2 separate regions of the Homo sapiens genome follow, and region 1 is linked to region 2. The links are contacts of gene promoters, found by promoter capture Hi-C in human tissues and cell types (Jung and others, 2019). All regions are on one chromosome and are shown on one strand. The core of a region is centred on a gene start or on the middle of the fragment in contact, and the rest is flanking DNA. Distances in the headings are between cores, read along the strand shown. Region 1 has its middle 71 kb from the start of POU2AF2. Region 2 holds the start of FDX1 (ferredoxin 1).

Region 1 (4,637 bases), core at 2,114-4,613, 750 kb after region 2:
TTGGCTCACTGCAACCTCCGCCTCCCAGATTCAAGCAATTCTCCGGCTTCAGCCTCCCGAGTAGCTGGGATTACAGGCGTGTGCCACAACACCTGCTAATTTTTGTATTTTTAGTAGAGATAGGGTTTCAATTCTTCTGTAGCCTTCTGATCTGTAGAATCTGCCTCATCTGCAAGTTTAATAACTTTCACACCATATCACCTTTTGGAATGTGTGAACCAGCCAAGCCAATGCTAGCCAAAAATAGTGTCACATTCTCCTGATCCAGGGAAATGTGACCATAAATTTCTTTGGCTTCCAGTCTCACAACTCTGCTGTCTGCTATGTGTTTTTTAATCAGTTATCATGTCTAACTGCTTTTCTGCTTTTTCCATAGACTCATCACACACTACAGATGTTACTTTAGCAACCTCCACAGTGGCCCAGATTAGCGAATATCTCCTTTCTTTTTCTGGATGTACTGTATTGTTGATTCATCAACATTGAATTCATGGCCAACATCATATAACTCATGCCTGAAGGAAGCCTATTTAACATATGCATTTTCTCACGAGGCACATCACAGCCTTCTTGTACTTAGGAACACTAGACAGCACGGGGGACCATTTTAAGTAGCAAAATTACTAACAAAAAGCATCAAAATGCAAAAAACATGGCACTGAATAGACTTCCAAAAGGTCTTTTATTTAACATGAGAGCAGAAACAAAAAGGCAGAGTGTGGCCCTGTTTGACCTCAGCTGGGAACATGAGCATTTAGGCAACTCAGATTTTTCACCACTCTATGCGTGTCCACATATGACCTCAAACGTGCCACAAATATTGATCTGGAGTTTATAACCAAATTTAGCGAGTAGGTGAATTCGCAAATATAGAATCTAAGAAGAAGGAGAAGTACAGTGGGGATGAGTTCCGGAGGAAAGAAAGTCCTCTCAAAGGATTATTCTGAGATTCAAATGAGATCATCCATATAAAGGATTCAGCATCATGCCTGACAAACAGGCATCAATAGATTCTTATTCTCTGACTGGTCAAATGAGGTCACACCTCAGAGAGGAGGGAACTTTGAACTGGCCCCTGAAAGACAGATTCGAGACACGGATATGGATGGATGAGAAGAAAACTATTCAAGGCAGAAAGAAAAGTATAAGCCAAGGCAAAGAGGCAGGATATTAAAGAATGTATACAGGGGGAATCAAATGGCCACAACCTGGCTGAATCCAACACTGTATAAAGGAACTTGGTAAGAAAGAATTTGAAAAGGCAGGTTGGGCCAATTTACAGAGGGCCTTAAATTCCAGGCTGATGAATCTGGACACAATATAACAGGCCACAGAGCAGTCTTGGTGTTTGTTAAAGAGGAAAGTAGTGCTCAGAGCTGAGTTTCCAGAAGAATAAGCTGAGGATGGCATGTAAAAGTAATGGTGGTGTGGGGGCAGGAACTCAGGAAACCACTCGGAAAGTAAGAGTATCACTGATTGTAATATTCTTGTGGTCATTTTGTGATTTTGGAAGAATTGGATGGGGGTTAAAAAGGAAGAAAGAGGAAGGGTTTCAATGAAATACCTTCCCAAACCTCTTGACGAAAATAATTACTTGAGTCCTCATCAGTAATACAAATCCGCAGGCCTCAACCCATACCCTTGGGATGTGAATCTCCAGCACAGTGGTCTGGGGAACTGTCTGTCTGCCAGCCCCTCAGGTTGTTCTTTCCATCAGGGAAGTCTGGGAAACACTGTTTCTGAGCTACAGAAACTGAGAACAGCTACTCTACATAACCAAGCTGAGGACAAGAGAAATACCTAGACCCCATGTTTCCAAGCTCCAGTCTTCACCACTGCTGACTTGTTTTCTCAAGCAATTCTGTGCTTCCCTAAAGAAGCAAGTATGCTCACTCACGTGGAGCCCACCACCCCCAGCCTGGTAGTGAGGGAGTGCAATCGGTTTCATTAATAAAGCAGCCTCAGAGAGGAATTTCATTTAAAAACAGAGACAACTAACTATATTAGTTTGAAATAAGTTCTGTACTTTCTAAACTCTAAATACAAATTCATTAGTTTTTAATTCTTTTTTAAAAATCCAGATTCCACAACTCTATGAACTGTTTAATATGAATTCCCACTACAAATTCTAGAGCAGGAATACAAGGTATTTTCTATATTTACATTTAAGCAAACAGGTGTGAAGCAAGTAAAATGTGTTCAGAATTGCTTTAGACTCTACTAATGAACTGTGAAGATTTATTTTATGATCCGTGTCATAACGAATTCTATGGAGCACTAACAGAACCAAAAGGAAGACTTACAATTTTCAACAGTAGATATTAGATGGTTAAGACATCCCAGGAATCCAGTGTGTTTTTAGTAGATGTTATTAACACATTGTTGAGTAGGTTACACTGTATTGAAGAGGGCTCTAGAAAACAGACAGTGGGCACAAAGCTACACTGAGGACTGCATTAGAATGTATGCTTATTATTTAAATTTCCCTGAGATAATTTATACACTATTCATTTCCAACAAAAGATCAAGCGAGGCGTGGTGGCTTACGCCCTGTAATCCCAGTACTTTGGGGGGTCAAGGTGGGTGATCACCTAATGTCAGGAGTTTGAGACCAGCCTGGCCAACATGGTGAAATCCCGTCTCTACTAAAAAGACAAAAATTAGCTGGGCATGGTGGCACATGCCTGTAACCCCAGCTACTCGGGAGGCTGAAACATGAGAATTGCTTGAACCTGGGAGACGGAGGTTGCAGTGAGTCGAAATCACATCACTGCACTCCAGACTACATGACAGAGCAAGATTCGGTTTGAAGAAAATTTTAAAAAGATCGGAAGTCATATAATATTGGTATCTTAAAAAATTTAAAGTAATTACACAACTAAACTGGAGCTTAACCCACAAGGGCTCTTGGCTTTGCCCAGGAAAGAATTCAGGGGCGAGCAAGAGATGGAAGAAAGCAGCTCTATTGAAGTGGCAGTGTTACAGCTCCGGTGGTGTTACAGCTCCATGACTGCTCCTGCAGAGCAGGGATACACCTCAGGCCGTGTGCTCAGGGTAGCAGCTCAGGGCAGTTTTGCAGTCATATTTATACCGACTTTTAATTACATGTAGATTAAGGGGTGGTTTATGCAGAAATTTCTAGGGAAATTTCTTTTGGGTTGTTGGGTCATTGCCTTGGAAAGAGGTGGTAATTCCTGAGTGTTGCCATGGCAATGGTAAACTGACATGGCACACTGGTGGGCATGTATTATGGAAAGCTGCTTCCTCCCAGTCCATTTTAACTAGTCCTCAATTTGGTCTGGTGTCTGAGCCCCGTCTCTGGAATCGAGTCCTGTCTCCGCCTCCTACCCCAACAGAGTAAGACTTTCTCAGCCTCCTGCACCACCCCACCTATTAGCCAAAGAGAGGAAATCCCTGATAACCATTACACTGCCCTATTTATGTCTTTAAGATAGAGTAAGGAGTTACAGGTACATAGTGTCTTGTATTTATTAATAACAACCATATCATTATGACAGAAAGCATGATGAGCAATAGCGAAAGTGTGTTTTTAAAAAAGCAACACCATGGATATCTGATCAAAACTTTGTTTTGTGAGCAATATAATTTAATACATGCTATTAGTATATAGTATGGGCTGTAGAAAAAATAGAATGCAGTATTTACCAATGTGCTTATGAAATCTATGGAAATTGGTATTTCTTGTTTTTCTCGGGGGTCAGCATGATGTCACAGAAAGTGCACAGTTATTTAGAGGCCAAAAGCCTAGATGTGTAAATCATGTTTGCCTGACTTAGCAGCTGTGTGGCCTTGTGGACCTTCCTTCAACCCCTCTCAGCTTCCATTTCTCCTCTGGAATATGGGAGTCATAACTGCTACACGGAACAGTTTTGAAAATGAAATGAGAAAACACATAAAGAACCCAGGTCAGGACATTGGCTCATAGCAGCCATTCAGTGCGTGTTGGTTTCCTTATTCCCTTCACCTTTCTGGATTAGGTCACATCCAGTGCTTCCCACATGCCAAGGCCAGTCTGAATGTCTGGCTCTCAAACTTTTGGGGATCCAGATGCTTTGTGCCTCTAATTAAGGTTATAGATCATCTCCCCTAACAAGTTCATGTGCATATAACATTTTGCAGGCAATTTCTCACAGACTCCCTAGTATTCACTTATGGACCCACTTGGGGTCCACAAATCCAGGTTAAGAATGCTGGACCTAAAGAATCTTGGGACAGTAAAGGACTGTGGTGTGTATGAAAGATTTGCTCACCAACTATAAAGAAACTAGAGGTCCTAATCATCTCCAAGACACTATCTGGCAAGTTATATATTTCTGAAGCCTGAATTGACATGTACAGGTCCATCTTGTGGCACTAGTAATAGCATTCTCACACACACACACATATGCATACACACACATGCACACACACATGCTGGCACACACACACATCAAGTATCAATTTGCGATCACTAGTTTACATGGAAACTAGGAGCTTCATTGGAATAAAAGCTTGAACAATAGCCAGTACTATGGTTCGGACATCTCAGATATTCATGATCGAGTAGGAGTCAAAGATGCAATGGAAACCACAGTGAAGAAAGGAACCGAAAAGAAAATTCACCAAGCAGAGGAAAT
Region 2 (4,805 bases), core at 567-3,066:
AAAGAAATACATAAGCAAACAGATAAGCAAAAGCACGTCCTCAGTAATTCCATGTTGCTTTATCTGTATTCATGATCATGTTTACAAATCCATTCTGGAATTCTGCTGACTACTGATATTTGCAATTTTTGGCATTACTTCTCATCCACCTTAGAAAACCTGGAGAACATTTTTTCTATCTTTAATCTTCATATACATGCTTAATGAATTCTGATGATTATTAATGGAAATTTCATAACATCAATTTATTCACCAATATTTATTAGACCCTTGATATGTTCAAGACCCTGTAGCTGGTGCTGTCGGAGTCACTAAGATGAACTATATAAATAACTACTCTATGTGTACGAATAACTACCCTACAAAGCAGAAAGCTATCAAGTGCCTTAAGGGAGTTGAAACTGTATTTGCTACAGGAGGGCTGAGAGAAGACAGAACATCTACGATTTTTTTTCTTTTCAATTCTCTTCCTACAACTAATTCATCCGACCTTGGAAGTTTGGTCTTACTAAAAACAAAAGTTAGCTGTTCTTTTACAACCTCCTCTTCAAGATTACTTGTCAGGGTTTGCTGTGCCCTTCGCAGCTTGAAAGACTTTCTCTTCATCCAACGATTTGAGGCAATTAGGAGCCACTGCCTTCTCTCTGCCATTGGGTTCCAGAAAGCACCATACATTGTCCGCAGATACTTTACTCATGCTTACACTTTCTTGTTCTGAATCTTCAAAAATTAGTGGCGTGTGGTGGCACACGCCTGTAGTCCTAGCTACTCGGGAGGCTGAGGCAGGAGAATCACTTGAACCTGGGAGGCGGAGGTTGCAGTGAGCCGAGATTTCGCCACTGCACTACAGCCTGGGCAGAATAGAGAGACCCCATGTCAAAAAAAGAAAAAAAAAGTATCTGATTGTGTTTAGCATATCTGCAATATCCCCTTGACTTTGGCCTTTAGCCTCTTTATGAGTACCCTGATGGAGGAAGGCCCAGGAAGCGGTAGCCTTCCTGGTTTGTGACGCACGGTGTGCATTGCGTATTAGATTAACATCAGAATGGCCCTGAAGGCTGGAACATCTTATCTGTGTTTGAGAGTTATGGAAACTCTGATCCTCCATGAGAATAATTTTTCCAAGGTCTCAGATCTCTAAAGCAGTAGATCTTGGATCTGAACATTGCTATTTCTGACCTTAAAGCCCATGCATTTCCCACAACATATGAACCATGATAAGGTGTATTTTAAAGTTCATCTTTTCTGTTTTTTGTGAAAGTCTTTTAGAGATCTCAGCTCATCACAAAGTTTCCGGTTCAGTCTCGTGGGTTTCATGTACTCAGCCAGCATTTACTTGCCAGTCAAGGTCTAGGATGGCTACCTGTCCTCTGCAGGAGCCCCAAGCCTATTCATTAATTTCATTTACAATTTTATAGTCATAATTATTTCTTTGTATAATAGCATTCTGAGATTTTCCAAAATTTCCCACTGTTTTTGTTTTACAGTGGGCAGAATTCACTTTGCTCTAACTTGACTCCAAGATGACACAATTTCCCAGTTTTTTTTTTAACGGCTAGGGGATGGGGGTATGCGGAACAGAACACAGTGGTCTAGCTAACCGATTTCCGCTAGACGTCCAGCTATCTTTCAAAATATTTTGTTTCTGCACGGCAACTTCAGCCGCTAAAAAAGCATCCAGCTTACAACGGAACCTGGAGGGTTGGTAAAGGCCCCCTGCGCTGGCCCCGCCCCATGGGACCGGGCGGCGTGGGCGTGAGAGGCGGGGCGGGGCCGCGCTCTGCTTGCCAATGTCTTTATAGGTCACCCGGAAGGCACGCGGAACCTCGGCGCGGTGCTTCCAGCAGGGTCTCTCCGCCACTCCAGCCCCGCGCCCCTCGCCGCGGCCCTCGGGCGTCTGCGCCGCAGCTGCCGCCCCCGCCTCTTTGGAGTCTCTCGCGGCCTCAAAGCGCGGCCTGCGTCGCTTCCGGCAGTTCCCGACCGCGGGCGATGGCTGCCGCTGGGGGCGCCCGGCTGCTGCGCGCCGCTTCTGCTGTCCTCGGCGGCCCGGCCGGCCGGTGGCTGCACCACGCTGGGTCCCGCGCTGGATCCAGCGGCCTGCTGAGGAACCGGGGGCCGGGCGGGAGCGCGGAGGCGAGCCGGTCGCTGAGCGTGTCGGCGCGGGCCCGGAGCAGGTAGGGCGCCGTGCGGGCGCGATCGCCGGCGCGGGCCGGGGTCCCCGGTGGGTGGCGCCTGGCTCTCTGGGCCGAGTCTCTGGTTCCAGTGCCTTCTGCGCGCCGGGCCCACACCCCGGAGGCCTGCCTCTCGCCCCCCTCTTCTGGGGTGCTCTCGCGGCTCCGTCTCGCTGCTCGGTGGCGTCGCTGCCTCCCTTCCGTCGCACCGCAGAGTTCCTTTCCGCATCACCCACTCCCGGCGGGAATCGGGGACCCTGGACGCCCAGCTCCCTTTCCCAGCGCTTCCCGTGCCCTGAGGAAAGCCGGGACTTTGCTGCTGCTTGTTCTCCGTGTGATTTGTCTGGGATCTGACCTTTGCTCTGCCCGAAACTGGCAGTGACCTTCGCGACAGGCTTCCCTCCTGCTGTCCTGGCCTGACACACCTGCCAGCTGTTTTTTTCAGGGCCTTGCCCTGCTTTGAGAGGACACCCAGGTCCCAGGTCTTTGTCAGGGGGTGTCCAGGTAGAATACACCCAGCCCATACCCTCTGCTGCCCTGTAGGCCCTTTGCTAGTTGCTCAAGTGTTGAAAGCCCCTGCGTTGAAGTAATCTGCCGGGACTTGAAACTTGGCTTTGGCACTGATTGTCTGACGTGCCTAACTTGGTCAGTCCTTAGGAACCCAGTTTCTCCATTTGCAAGTTGGATATAATAACAGTGTAGACCTCCTATGGTTAATTGAAGAATCAATGAGTTAATACAGCGATACAGGTAGTCTTGTGCCTAGCACGTAATGAGGGCTCAGTAGATGCCACTTGGTAGCAGCAGCAGCAGCAGCAGCAGCAGCAGCAGCAGCTTCTTAGGTTCACAATGTTAAGAGAGTTTTGTATTAAATATTGAAAGAAATGTGACAATTTATCCCAAATGTGTTGAAGTTTTAGGTTCTTGGGCATATTTGTTTTTCAAAGACACTCCTTAGATATACTAGAGATACAATTTACACATAATTTTTACCAACATGGTGGCGATTTATATAATGCAGATCTCTCGACAGCTCTTTGACCGCATGATGTAGGGTAGCAGGAATCGAGAACTAGAGGGAGAGTGTGTTGGATTTGTACGCTGCTTTGTCTAGTTTCTTTTTGAGGTCTCTGAGAGCAGGGTCTAAGACTTTCAGTCATCTTTTCCCCACTAATCCCGTTATCTAGTGGGTGCTCCATACATTTTTGTTGTGTGAACTTTGGGGGAAATCAGGGAGAAGGCAAGCCAGATTTATTTGTTCCTGTTTCCTCTGCACTTCCCCCCCTGTCTTTGACCAGTGTGGGTACCTTGCTTTCTGTTATACAATGGATGAGTTTTGGACAACTGAATCAATTGGGACAGATATTGAACATGCTTGTGTAACTGGTATAAGGGAACATGAATGTTTTTGTAGTAATTGGGAGTTATCTTTCTCAGATTTGTTTTTTGGATTTGGATATGTCAGGTTGTTTTAAAGGGGAGCACGTCTATTTCCTCATAATCCTGCTGCCCTCTTTATTGGCACAATTTCTATTCATGGTCTTATCATTCCTCTTACAGACTTTGGAGCTACAACTGGATTTTCCAGTTCTTACTGTGTTAATGAGACTTGTGCTGTAACTACCGTAACTACTAATCACATGTGGCTATTGAAGTTTAACATAATTAAAGGTAAATAAAATTAAAGATTCAATCTCGTAGTTACACTAGCCACATTTCGAGTTCTCAGTAGCCACATGTGGCTAGTGGCTACTGTATTGGACATTGCAAGTATGTGTAGAACATCTTTGTTATGGCACAAAGTTCTTATAGACAGACAGAGCAGTTCTAGAAACTGTAGTTCTGTCTTTGAAGTTTAACAACTCGATAAGCTATCAGTAATTGAGAGTCAGAAAAACTCCTTTTACTCTAAAATACCGTGACACAAGGGGGTTTGCAGTGATTCAGGTAGCAAAGATCTTTCACGTGTATTGTTTCGTATGACTCTTAAGACAATTCTATGAGGTAGGGAGGGTAGATAAATGGGAATAAAAATTTCATATTAAGTAGCTGGCAAAACTAGGACTAGAACTCAAGAAGTTTTTGCGGATTTTAAAAAAATTTTAAATTTCTATTTATTTTTAAAATTTCAGTAGTTTTGGGGGCACAGGTGGTGTTTGGTTAATGGGTTAGTTCTTTAGTGGTGATTTTGGAGGTGTTGGTGTACTCTTCACCTGAGTGCAGTGGTGCCATCATGGCTCACTGCAGCCTACACCTCCCAGGTTCAAGCGATTCTCGTGCCTCAGCCACCCGAATATCTGGGATTACAGGCGCGTGCCACCACACTCGGCTAAGTTTTGTAGTTTTAGTAGAGATGAGATTTCACTATGTTGACCAGCCTGGTCTGGAACCCCTGGCCTCAAGTAATCTGCCTGCTTCAGCCTCCCAAAGTATTGGGATTACAGGCGTGAGTGACCACTCCCAGCATAGGGTCTACATCTTCTGACTCTTAGGTTCCATACTCTTTCAACTTAAGAATTACATTTTTCTTTCGTTTCCGCCTCCTCTCCTCTTCTTTGGTAAACCTGTTAATACTCTTACTTGGCAGTTTTTTGTAGGGCTGTTTACCTTTAATACAGACCAACAGGTTGGGCT

The links. The method cuts DNA at HindIII sites, captures the fragments that hold promoters and counts their contacts. A contact is called where the count stands out against the background at its distance.
Region 1: a fragment that was not itself captured here is called in contact with the fragment with the promoter of FDX1 in region 2 in 1 of the 25 tissues and cell types used here (lymphoblastoid cells).

The regions. Positions count from the first base shown.
Region 1 is chr11:111,172,135-111,176,771 of GRCh38, forward strand. No RefSeq gene overlaps it. Among named protein-coding and RNA genes, the nearest start is that of POU2AF2, 71 kb to the right of the region's middle. The HindIII fragment of the contact is 4,277 bases long and covers 1,226-4,637 here.
Region 2 is chr11:110,428,132-110,432,936 of GRCh38, forward strand. It overlaps FDX1 (ferredoxin 1), which reads left to right and starts at 1,817. Exons shown (of 4, transcript NM_004109.5): 1 at 1,817-2,174. The coding sequence starts at 1,990. RefSeq lists a silencer at 1,631-2,280 and an enhancer at 2,351-2,630. The HindIII fragment of the contact is 14,779 bases long and covers 1-4,805 here.